Linked DNA regions of Homo sapiens: region 2 is linked to region 1. Evidence: promoter capture Hi-C in human tissues and cell types (Jung and others, 2019). All regions are on one chromosome and are shown on one strand. Each heading gives the region's core, a stretch centred on a gene start or on the middle of the fragment in contact. The rest is flanking DNA. Distances are from core to core; before and after follow the strand shown. Region 1 holds the start of DPF1 (double PHD fingers 1). Region 2 holds the start of CATSPERG (catsper channel auxiliary subunit gamma).

The links. The method cuts DNA at HindIII sites, captures the fragments that hold promoters and counts their contacts. A contact is called where the count stands out against the background at its distance.
Region 2: the fragment with the promoter of CATSPERG here is called in contact with the fragment with the promoter of DPF1 in region 1 in 1 of the 25 tissues and cell types used here (liver).

The regions. Positions count from the first base shown.
Region 1 is chr19:38,222,972-38,228,514 of GRCh38, reverse strand. It overlaps DPF1 (double PHD fingers 1), which reads left to right and starts at 4,293. Exons shown (of 12, transcript NM_001135155.3): 1 at 4,293-4,401. The coding sequence starts at 4,373. RefSeq lists an enhancer at 266-1,036 and a silencer at 3,959-4,528. The HindIII fragment of the contact is 15,736 bases long and covers 1-5,543 here.
Region 2 is chr19:38,332,377-38,337,919 of GRCh38, reverse strand. CATSPERG (catsper channel auxiliary subunit gamma) reads right to left here and starts at 2,090. Exons shown (of 29, transcript NM_021185.5): 1 at 2,045-2,090; 2 at 416-699; 3 at 274-327. The coding sequence starts at 685. RefSeq lists silencers at 1,303-1,472, 1,843-1,922 and enhancers at 2,043-2,252, 2,057-2,351. The HindIII fragment of the contact is 10,217 bases long and covers 1-5,543 here.

The DNA.
Region 1 (5,543 bases), core at 3,044-5,543:
AGCGCCCGCGGCGTCGCACAAAGGGGCCGGGGCGACCTCCCCCACCCTTCCCCCAACCCCGTGCGCTGGCTGCCTTGACCTTGAACATCGAGGGCTGGGGGCGGGGGTGGGGGGTGGGGGGAGAGAGGGAGAGAGGGAGCGCCCCCCTACCCCACCCACGAGAAGGGATGCGCCTGCTGGCTGGACCAGAGGCCGCCAGTTGCTTCTGGTTTCTGGCGGGAATGGGGGTGGGAGGTGGAGGGTGGGAGTTGGGAGAGGAAGGGGGGCAGGGACTTAGAGGCAAGCGCCTACACGTGTGGCTTCGCCGTGAGCAGGGTGCCGGGAGCGGGTGTGTGGGGCTCGGGTCCGTGTGAGGTGGTGTATGATGGTGACACCCCTCTGCTGCCCTCTCACCCTAAGTGGCACACACAGACAGCTGTCTCTCCTGTGAGGGGACATCCGCAAAATGGCTGGGAACGGGGCTCTTGTGCAGGTTGGTGGATCTACAGGCGATGGGGCCCCTCACCCTGACCCTGGCCCAGACCCCTGGGAGGAGGTGTGCTACAGCCGTGAGCAGGGGCCCAGCTACAGTAAGCCTGGACTGGGAGGGCCCTACCCCTCTGTGCCCTTCCCTTCCAAAAGGTCTCTGTGGGGGTGAAGGTGGGGACTCCCTGGCTCCTGAAAGAATGTGAGTCAAATCCCCTGGGGAGAAGGAGCTGCAGGGTGCCGCCCTCGGAAGTTCCGACTGCCTGAGTTCCAAAACCAGCTTGAGCCACGAATGTTCCCTGCCGTGAGCCTCAGTTTTGCCATCTGTGTATGGGGGCTTCTAACAGCCCTTACCACCCGATGGGACTGTCGTGGGGCTAAGGCCATCTTTGTAAAGCAGTTAGCACAGAGACTGACACTGACCAAATGTAGTGATTATTATTAGTAGTATCAATATTGATTTATGAAATTGATTTCTACTGTGGGCCAGCTCCCACACAGGGCATTGGGGGATGGGGCAGGAGGATTGTTTGGGCCAGGGAGAGGACTGGGAGTTCAAGTGTGTAGGAGAGTATGTGGGAGTGGTGTGTGCAGGTGGTTAGGGCAGAAGGAAAGAAAGGAGAGCCCGCTGCAAGTGTCAGCCTGCGTCTGTGGGTAGATATCCTGCTGGTGGGCCGGGCATGGTGGCTTATGCCTGTAATCTCAGCACTTTGGGAGGGCAGGGTGGGCAGATCACTTGAGCTTAGGAGTTTGAGACTAGCCTGGCCAACACAGGGACACCCTGTTTTTACAAAAATACAAAAATTAGCCGGGTGCGGTGGCACAGGCCTGTAGTCCCAGCTACTTGGGGGTTTGAGGTGGGAGGATCGCTTGAGCCTGGGAGGTGGAGGCTGCAGCGAGCTGTGTTCATGCCATGGCACTCCAGCCTGGGCCATCGAGTGAGACGCTGTCCAAAAAAAAAAAAGAGAAAAAGAGAAAGAGGAAAGAAAGAGAAGAAAAGAAAGAAAGAAAGAAAGGAAGGAAGGAAGGAAGGAAGGAAGGAAGGAAGGAAGGAAGAGAAATAAAAGAAGAAAAGAAAAGAAAGAAAAATAGAAATTCTGCTGGTAGAGGAGGACTGTTAGGAAGGTCTGCACTCAGTGTCTACACTCGGGCTTCTCTTAATCAAATCGACATGAGAGTTTGGGGTGGGGCAGGAGTGAGTCTGCGTGTCTGAGGCTAGCGGTGTGGGAATCAAGTGTAAGAGGGTGTGTTACGGGACCTGTGAGCTAATGGGAGGTGAGAGAGGAAGGTGGGGTCACAGCTCACCGTGGGTAAGGTGTGAGGTGGCCACTATAGGGCCCTGGAGGCCAGAGTGATCGTAGGGGTGTCAGTGCCCCTCACTTAATCCCCTTGTCACCACTCCAGGCCATATGTGAATCAGAGACCTACCTCCTGTTCCAGGAGAGGGGCCGGCCAAGACCTTACCTGGCTTAGATGGGCGAGTTTGTGGAAAGGGTCTAAGACTAGAGGAGTGTGTGTGTGTGTGTGTGTGTGTGTGTGTGTGTGTAGAAGTGACCGTGAGTGTAGGAGGCCTTGACTGGATCTCTCTCTTGGGGGGATTTCAAGTGACAAAAATGGTGAAGGCTAGCGGGCCACTTCTGTCGGCTGGGGCGCCCCCTGGTGGATGAGGGCGTTTGTGGGCGTGTTAATTACAGCAGCCGCCCAAATTTGAATGCTGGCTCTACAGGGGTCCGGGTGGAAGAGGGGAAGGGGAAAGGGGGAGAAGGGGTGGGAAGGGGAAAGGGGGAGGAGGGGTGAGACGGGAGGGGGGACGGGGTGGTGGTGTTGCAGAGAGACTGGGTCAGTTTGTGACTCAGTGGGTCTGCTCACTCCCTGGGGATCTCTTCGGGTGGAGTCAGTGTGGGTGACAGTGGGAGAGAGAAGGAGGTCAGGACTACTTGGGGAGGGCCGTCAGGGGTGCCTGCCTCCTTCCTTCAGTCTTACCTTCAAAGAGCCGCCAGGGCATGCGGGCATGTGAGGTTACCTTCCTGTGCCTCAGATTCCTCACCTGGAAAATGCAGATAATAAAAGCATCCCGGGGTGAACTGTGCCCAGCACATGATGGGTGCATTTACTCATTCAACAAATATCTACTGAGCATCTATTTTTTTTTTTTTTTTTGGAGACAGGGTCTTGCTCAGTTGTCCAGGCTGGAGTGTAGTGGTGTGATCATAGCTCACTGCAGCTTCGATCTCCTGGGTTCAACCAATCCTCCTGACTCAGCCTCCTGAGTAGCTGGGACCATAGGCATGTGCCACCATGCCCAGCTATTTATTTTTTTTTTAGTAGAGACCAGGTCTCGCTATGTTGCCCAGGCTGTTCTCCTGAGCTCAAGCGGTCCTCTCATCTCAGCCTCCCAGATTGCTGGGATTACAGGCATGAGTCACGGCGCCCTGCTTACTTAGTTTTTTGTTTGTTTGTTTGTTTGTTTGTTTGCTTTTAGAGACAGAGTCTCGCTCTGCCACCCAGGCTGGAGTGCAGTGGTGAGACCACAGCTCACTGCAGCCTCAGCCTCCCAGGTTCAAGCTATCCTCCCACTTTAGCCTTGCAAGTAGCTGGGACTACACTGCTGCGCCATCATGCCCAGCTAATTTTAATTTTTTTTTGTAGACACAGGGGTCTGGATATGTTGCCCAGGTTGGTCTCAAACTCCTGGGCTCAAGCAGTGCTCTCATCTAGGCCTCCCGAAGTACTGGGATTGCAGACTGGAGCCATCGCACCTGGCCGCATTATTCTTTCTTTCTTATTATTTATTTATTTATTTTTGAGAGGGAGTCTCACTCTTGTTGCCCAGGCTGGAGTGCAATGGCACGATCTCAGCTCACTGCAACCTCCACCTCCTGAGTTCAAGTGATTCTCCTGCCTCAGCCTCCTGAGTGGGGGAGTATAAGCATGCGCCACCATGCCCGGCTAATTTTGTATTTTTAGTAGAGACTACTACCATGTTGGCCAGGCTGGTCTCGAACTCCCATCCTCAGGTGATCCACCTGCCTGGGCCTCCCAAAGTGCCGGGATTACAGGTGTGAGCCACTGCGCCTGGCCTGCCAGTCACCTCTTAAAATGCTTTACCTATATTTACTCATTTAATCCTCACAACACTCCAGTGAGGCATCATCCTCTTTTTACAGATGAGGAAACTGAGGCCCAGAAAGGTTAAGTCATTTGCCAAGGTCACATGGCCACCAAGTGGCAGAGCTAGGATTTGAACCCTGGAGGTGTGACTACTGTTTCTAACCTGCACTGCTGCTGTCAGGCCTGCAGAAGGCGTTGAGCAGGGCGGGGTGACCGTGAGCGTGGCTGCTGGGAGAGACAGCCCCGGGTGGGGTCTCTGGAGCCAGGAGGGACTTGGGTGGGGGGCGGTGAGGGGGTGTCTGCTGGAAGCATGTTGGTGAGAAGTCTGTGTGGGCACCTGGGAGGTGTCTCTGCGTCTCTTAGTATTGCAGTGTGTGTGCGTGTGGCTGTGTGAGTCCGTGCGAAGGTGTGTGAGTAGGAGTGTGTGGGAGGCTGTGAGTATCCGCGTGAATGTGTGTGTAAACTGCCATGCGTGGGCGTGTGCGAGTCCAGGTGTGCATGTGGTTGTGTGCACGCGAGAGCAGGATATGTGGACGAGTGAGGGCGGGTGAGTGACGGTGCGTGCCCCGGGCCCCTCCTCCGCGCCGTCCCGTCCCCGCGGGGTCCCGGGGGCCCCCTGGCCTGGGACTACCACTCCCAGCATGGCCCGGGCGGGCCCGCCCCGTCGCCGCGATTGGCCGTGGCCCTCGTGCTCCCGCCCCCCGGGAATGAATGGATGGGCGGCCTCAGCGCCCGCCCGACCGCTGGGAGGACCGACCCGGCGGGGACCTGCTGGGGGCAGGACCCGGGGAGCAAGATGGCCACTGTCATCCCTGGCCCCCTGAGGTGGTGCGGGCCGGCGGGAGGCGGAGAGGAAGCGCGGGCGGGTCTACGCGGGCCTGTGTGTGTGTGGCGACCGGGGGTGGGGCCGAAGGGGTGTCTGGGGGGCTGTCACCGAGTGCGGGGCTGCGCGGGGGTGCGAGAGTGTGTGACTGTGGGTCTCTGACAAGAATGGTGTCGGATGCACCGCTCCCTGGCGGGGTGGAGGGCGTGGGGGGCCTCCAGATTCTTTTTGGGGAAGGGAGACATCATCCCTTCCCTGCAACCCTCGGGTCTGGGAGAGACTGAAATGACCCGGGGGTGCGGGGGCCTTGGCAACTGGAGTGAAGTCCACACTACCTTTGTCTTGGGATGTGGAGTGTGTGTGTGTATCACTTATTTGTGTTCTGGTTTTTTTAAGAATTTTTGGGGGATAGGTGTGTGGACATGTGTCTGTTTCCTTTTATTCTGCACTAGATATCTTTGGATATTTGGGTCTCCCAGTGTGTGTCCGTGTCCTTTGGAACTATATGTCATTTGTCTTGTGTTCTGTGTTTTTGGGTATGTAGGGCTGCGTGTATTTGTGTGTAAATTTTTGTGTGACTATGGGTGGATTTGGCTGTTTCTGTGTTTTATATGTGTGTGTGTCTGTGTGGATGTGTGATATTTTAGATACTGGTTGCGCATCGTGCATCTTTGTAAATGTGTGTGTGTACCTGTGTGAATCTGTGTGATTTCTTTGTGTTGTGTGTCTGGATATTGTGTGTGTGGTTTGTGTTGTGTCTTTGGATACATGGGTAAGTGCCTAGGGGCGCAAGTGGTTTCTGTAGTTCCTGTCTTTTGACATGCTTGTGTCTTTGGATGCATGAGGGGGTGTATGTGTGTGTGGTGTGATGTTTCCATGTTGTGTGTCTTTGTGTGGGTGATGTGTTTCTGGTGTGTGTCTGTGGATATGTGATGTGTCTTTGTGCATGGTTATTTGTGTGATTTGTCTCCACACTATGGAACTTGGGATATTTGTCTTTTTCAGTAGATATTTATGTGTGCACGTGTGTGAGGTTTGTCTGTTTCTCCTTTGTGAGTATTGGGATTTGTCTCTCTTTGTGTGTGAATCCCGTGTGACTGTGTGTGATTTGTGTTGTGTGTCTGCATGTGTTCAGGTAGGGATA
Region 2 (5,543 bases), core at 841-3,340, 110 kb before region 1:
CGTGGTGAAACCCTGTCTCTACCAAATACAAAAATTAGCCGGGCGTGGTGTCACATGCCTGTAGTTCCAGCTACTTGGGAGGCCGAGGCAGGAGCATCGCTTGAACACGGGAGGCGGAGGTTGCAGTGAGCCGAGATCGCGCCACTGCACTCCAGTCTGGGCAACAGCGCAAGACTCCGTCTCAAAAAAATAAAATAAATAAATAAATAAAAATGTTAGAGGTGGGAAAACCAAGGCTCATAGAATGAGCCTATCCGTGCTGCACCCACTCACCTTTTCCTCGCAGGAGTAGTTGATCTTCAGGTAGTAAGGGAAGCCCAGGTATTTCTGCAAAGAGAGGTTAGGCCACACGTCCAGAAATGAGTGGAGTGCGGGTTCAAAATCCCTCTGGTTCACTTGACCCTGGTCCCCTCACCTCGCTCGGGTCGATGGGTGAGTCCACCAGCATGTGAAACAAGCTGCTCACTGTGTCCACGGGCTCTTGCTCAAAGAAGCTGTCGCTCACACCACTCTCGCCTACCCTCTTAAACTCGTTCAGGACAACCTGCCAGGTGCATTCCTGGAAATCCTTGATCGCCCACAGCCTCCACGACGCCAGGAGCACTGCCAGCAGGGCCCACAGCACCTGCACGACTCGGACTCTGGGCCACGGAGGACCGGCAGGGAACATGGCTGGGCCGCACATAACGTGGCTAGAACCTGGAGAACGCAGGAGTCAACACCCACGCGCCGGACAGCTCTCTGGAGCCCACTTTTAAGATTCCACCTCGCTTCTGCGCCTCTCACAGCACTTGCTCCTGGCCACGCCCCGGCTCTTGCTCCTGGCCCCGCCCCTGCACTTGCTCTTGGTCCCGCCCCTGCTCTTGCTCCTGGCCCTGCCCCCGCACGGACTTTTAGCCCCGCCTCTGCTCTTGTTCCTGGCTCCGCCTCTGCACTTGCTCCTGGTCCCGCCCCTGCTCTTGCTCCTGGCCCTGCCCCCGACCCTCGTGGGTATCGCACCTCTGCTATTGCTCCGGGCCCCAGCCCTACTAATGTTTCTGGCCACACCCCTGCTCCTCCGCCTCGTTCCGCCCCGCCGCCTCCACGTCTCTTCCTTTAACTTTATCCTCACCTTGCTCCTTATTCCGCCCCCTCCCTGTATTCCACTCTTGCTCTTCACCTGGTCTTGGTTTCTATTTCTCGCTTTGACAGTCCCCCTCTTAAGTTCCCCCGTACTGCTTCTGCCTGCGATCGCACCCGTGTACTTCCACCCGGCTGTGCCCCAACCTCTTGCCCCACCCTCGCACTTCTCTTGGTATCGCCGCTTTCTCCTCGCTCGGGGTCTGCCCAGGGGCTGGGTACTGTACCTGGTCTCGCCCGTCTCCGGGCCCCGCCCCTGCTCTTGCTCCCGGCCCCGCCCCTGCTCTTGCTCCCGGCCGGGCCCCCGTTTCTCGCCCGGGGCTTGCTCCTCACTCTGCTTCCGCTCCTGACCGCGCCCCTACTCCTCCACTTGGTCTTTATGGACCCGTTCCTTCCCCGGGTTCTCGGCGATTGGTTCTTCCCGCGCGGGCCCGTCGCCCCGTCCCGCCCTCTGGTAACGCCCCTCCTCCTCGCCCTGCCCCTTCTCGATGAAAACTGTCTCTTCGCCTCGGGATCTTTCCTCGCCCTTCGTTGTTTCCTCGCCCCACACCTTCTCCTTCCACGCCGGCACCAGCTTCTTAGCCGGCACCTTCTTGAGTCTCACCTTCCCCTCGTACCGCGACACCTTCTTGCCCCACTTCTTACTCTTCCTTCCCATGCCATTAACACCTGCCTGCTCTATACCCCGACTCTCCTGCCCCGCCCCGCCCTTCGCCCTTCACGTTCGGCTCCCCCTTTCCCTCCTCTGCCAGCTCCCACGACTCTTCCCCTCTTTCCCTCCTCTCCCAGCTCCCACGACTCTTCCCCTCTTTCCCCTGCCTCTCCCCTTCTCGCCTTCCCCTTCCCCTCCCCTTCCTAGTTCCTCCCCGTCCCCGGCATCCCCCCGCCCCTGGATGGCACAGCTTTTTCCCCGGCCCCGTGGTACCAGTCACTTGGTTAAAACCGGTCAACTGTCACTCGGCCGCACCAGTCCCGCCCCTCTTGCCCGGTCTCAAAATGGCCGCCCACACTTCCACAGCCGACTTCCGCCTTTGCAGAGGCACGCCCTCCTCTCACGCGGTCTCCAAGGTGACGCGCAACCCCTAAGGCACCGAGGGCTGGAGGCTGTCTCAGCACTGAGGGCGCGGGGCCTGGTCGGCAGAGGGTGCTGGAGACTACGTTTGTGCCAGGAAGGCCTTCAAGGAGTTTCTATTGGTTGTTCTGGCAGCAAGCACGGTCCCTACTTGTGCTTCCTACCCAAATATATATATATATATATTTTTTTGAGACGGAGTTTCGCTCTTTCTCCCAGGCTGGAGTGTGAAGTGGCGCGATTTCGGCTCACTGAAACCTCCGCGCCCCTGCCCCGGATTCAAGCGATTCTCCTGCCTCAGCCTCCCGAGTAGCTGGGATTATAGGCTCCCGCCACCACGCCTGGCTAATTTATTTTTTGTATTTTTAGTAGAAACGGGGTTTCATCATGTTGGCCAGGCTGGTCTCGACTCCTGACCTCAGGCGAACCACCCGCCTCGGCCTCCCAAAGTGCTGGGATTACAGGCGTGAGCCACTGCGCCCGGCCCTACCCCAAAATTCTACTCCTTAAAAAAGTGTGGTTTCCTGGAGACCTTGTGAGAATGAATAGGCTGCTTAGCACCGTCCTCTACAAAACAGGACAAGGACAGCCATCCTATACTGTTGTGGGAAGTGTGCCCGGCTCAAGTAAAATATTCATTAAGTTAATTTTCATTTGCATTCTGATGCCTTACAGGTAAGGATTCAGGCCATGACTTTTTGATGAACTCCAGACCAGACGTTTAACCCAGTGGTTTTCAAATTTGAGCATGCATTAGACTCACCTAAAAGGCTGGGTAAGCCAGGTTGGTGGGTACCACACCCTGAGTTTTTGTTTTTGTTTTAAAGATGGAGTCTCTGGCTGGGCATAGTGGCTCATGCCTATAATCCCAGCACTTTGGAAAGCTGAGGCAGGCGGATCACTTGAGGTCTGAAGTTGGATACCAGCCTGGCCAACATGATAAAACCTTGTCTCTACCAAAAAATACAACAATTAGCCGGGCATGGCGGCGGGCACCTGTAATCCCAGCTACTCGGGAGGCTGAGGCAGGAGTTGCTTGAACCCAGGAGGCGGAGGTTGCAGTGAGCCGAGATCCCTCCACTGCACTCCAGCCTGGGCGACAGAATGAGACCCTGTCTCAAAAAAAAAAAAAAAAATTAAGCCAGATGTGGTGCTGCACACCTGTAATCCCAGTACTTTGGGAGGCTGAGGTAGGAGGATCGCTTGAGGCCAGCCTGGGCAATATGGTAAGACCCTGTTGCTAACAATTTTTTTAAATTAGCCCAGTGTGGTGGTCCATCCCTGTGACCCCAGCTACCTGGGAGGTTGAGGCAGGAAGACCACTTGAGCCCAGGAGTTTGAGGCTGCAGTGAGCTCTGAAATACACGGAAATGCAGTGAGCTGTGATCACACCACTGCATTTCAGCCTGGGCAAAAGAGCAACACCCTATCTCAGGTTAGCCTTGAATTTCAGGCCTCATGTGAGCCTCCCATCTCAGCCTCCTGAGTAACTACCTGGCTACTTCCAGAATTTTTCATTCAGTAGATCTGGAGTGGGGCCTGATAATTTGTATTTCTGGCAAGTTCCTAGGTGATGCTGATACTAGTGGTCTGGAGACCACACCTTGAGAACCAGTGCTCTAGAACCTTCCATGACCCTCTAGGCCCTCAGGAAAACTTCCAAACCCCTCGGTTTCCAGAGCCCCTCATACTCTCCTCCCTGTCATTCTATCTGGCTCATCTGCCCTCTCCCCCTTAGACCTCTGTGGTCCACAGTCTGGTCACATGGAGCGACTTGAATATCCTTGGTCAGGTGTGAGCCATGCATGCTCCAGACCTGTGCAGACTCAGTAATGCCCTCTGGAATACCATTCCATGCTTTTTAACAGGGCCCACCACTTTCCTTCCTTTAGGTCTTCTCTGTGATACATGACCAGCCCTCATCCTACCTCTTGGCCCCTCTAGGCCACTCATGACTGGAAATGGGTGTTTCTTTTCCACTGGATCACAAGCTCCGTGAGGGCAGGGTGTATGGCTTTCTCTGCCTCTGTTGTCCCCCAGCCCTGCCAGGCACCGCATATAATAGTTGTTTTATGTAAATGAACCGATGATGGTGGTCTATCCTTCCCACCCCAGCCCACCCCCGCAGGCTAGGGAACGGTGACATCTTCTAGGGGAAGAAACTCAGTAGCCATGTACCAGAGCCCTTTTTTTTTTATTTTGTTTTTTTAGAAACGGGGTCTCACTCTCTCACCCAGGCTGGAGTGGAGTGGCGCAATCATTGCTCGCTGCAGCCTCGAACTCCCAGGCTCAAGTGATCTTCCCATGTCAGCCTCCCAAGTAGCTGGAACTGCAGATGCGAGTCATCATATCCAGTTAATTTGTTTTATTTTTACTTTTTTTTTTTTAGAGATGGGGGTTTCTTTTTCATCTTCTTTTTTTCCCTTTTTTTTTTTTTTTTTTTGTTGAGACAAAGTCTCACTCTGTCGCCCAGGCTGGAGTGCAGTGGTGCCATCACAGCTCACTGCAACCTCCACCTCCCCGTTTCAAGCAATTCTCCTGCCTCAGCCTCCTGAGTAGCTGGGATTACAGGCATCTGCCACCGTACCCGACTAATTTTTATATTTTTAGTAGAGACAAAGTTTCACCATGTTGGCCAGGCTGGTCTCGAACTCCTGACCTCAAGCGATCCACCCGCTTCAGCCTCCCAAAGTGCTGGGATTACAGATGTGCTTCATTGCACCCGACCTTTATTCATCTTTTAAAAAAAAAAAAAAATAGAGATGGGGTCTCACCATTTTGACCAGTCTGGTCTAAAACTCCTGGCCTCAAGCAATCCTCCCATCTCGGCCTCCCAAAGTGCTGGAATTACAGACATGAGCCACCATGTCCAGCAGAGATGAGGTCTCACATGATGTCCAAGCTAGTCCCAAACACCTGGGTTCAAGTGATCCTCCTGCCGCAGCCTCCTGACTAGCTGGTGTTCCACCACACCCAGCTAATTTTTAAATTTTTTGTACAGGGAGGGTCTTGCTATGTTGCCCAGGGTGGTCTTGAACTCCTGCCTCATTCGATCCCTTCATTAGATCTTAAACCATAAGATGTTTGCTGTAGCATTGTTGTACCAGCAAAAGACTGGAAAACACCCACGTATCATCAACAGGGGATGTTGAAATTATTTATGGGAAATGTGTCCTAGAGGAGACACCGTAAGATATAAGACCTATTGTGGCCAGGTGTGGTGGCTCACACCTGTAATCCCAGCACTTTGGGAGGCCGAGGCGGGTGGATCACTTGAGATCTGGAGTTCGAGACCAGCTTGGCCAACATGGTGAAACCCTGTCTCTACTAAAAATACAAAAATGAGCCGGGC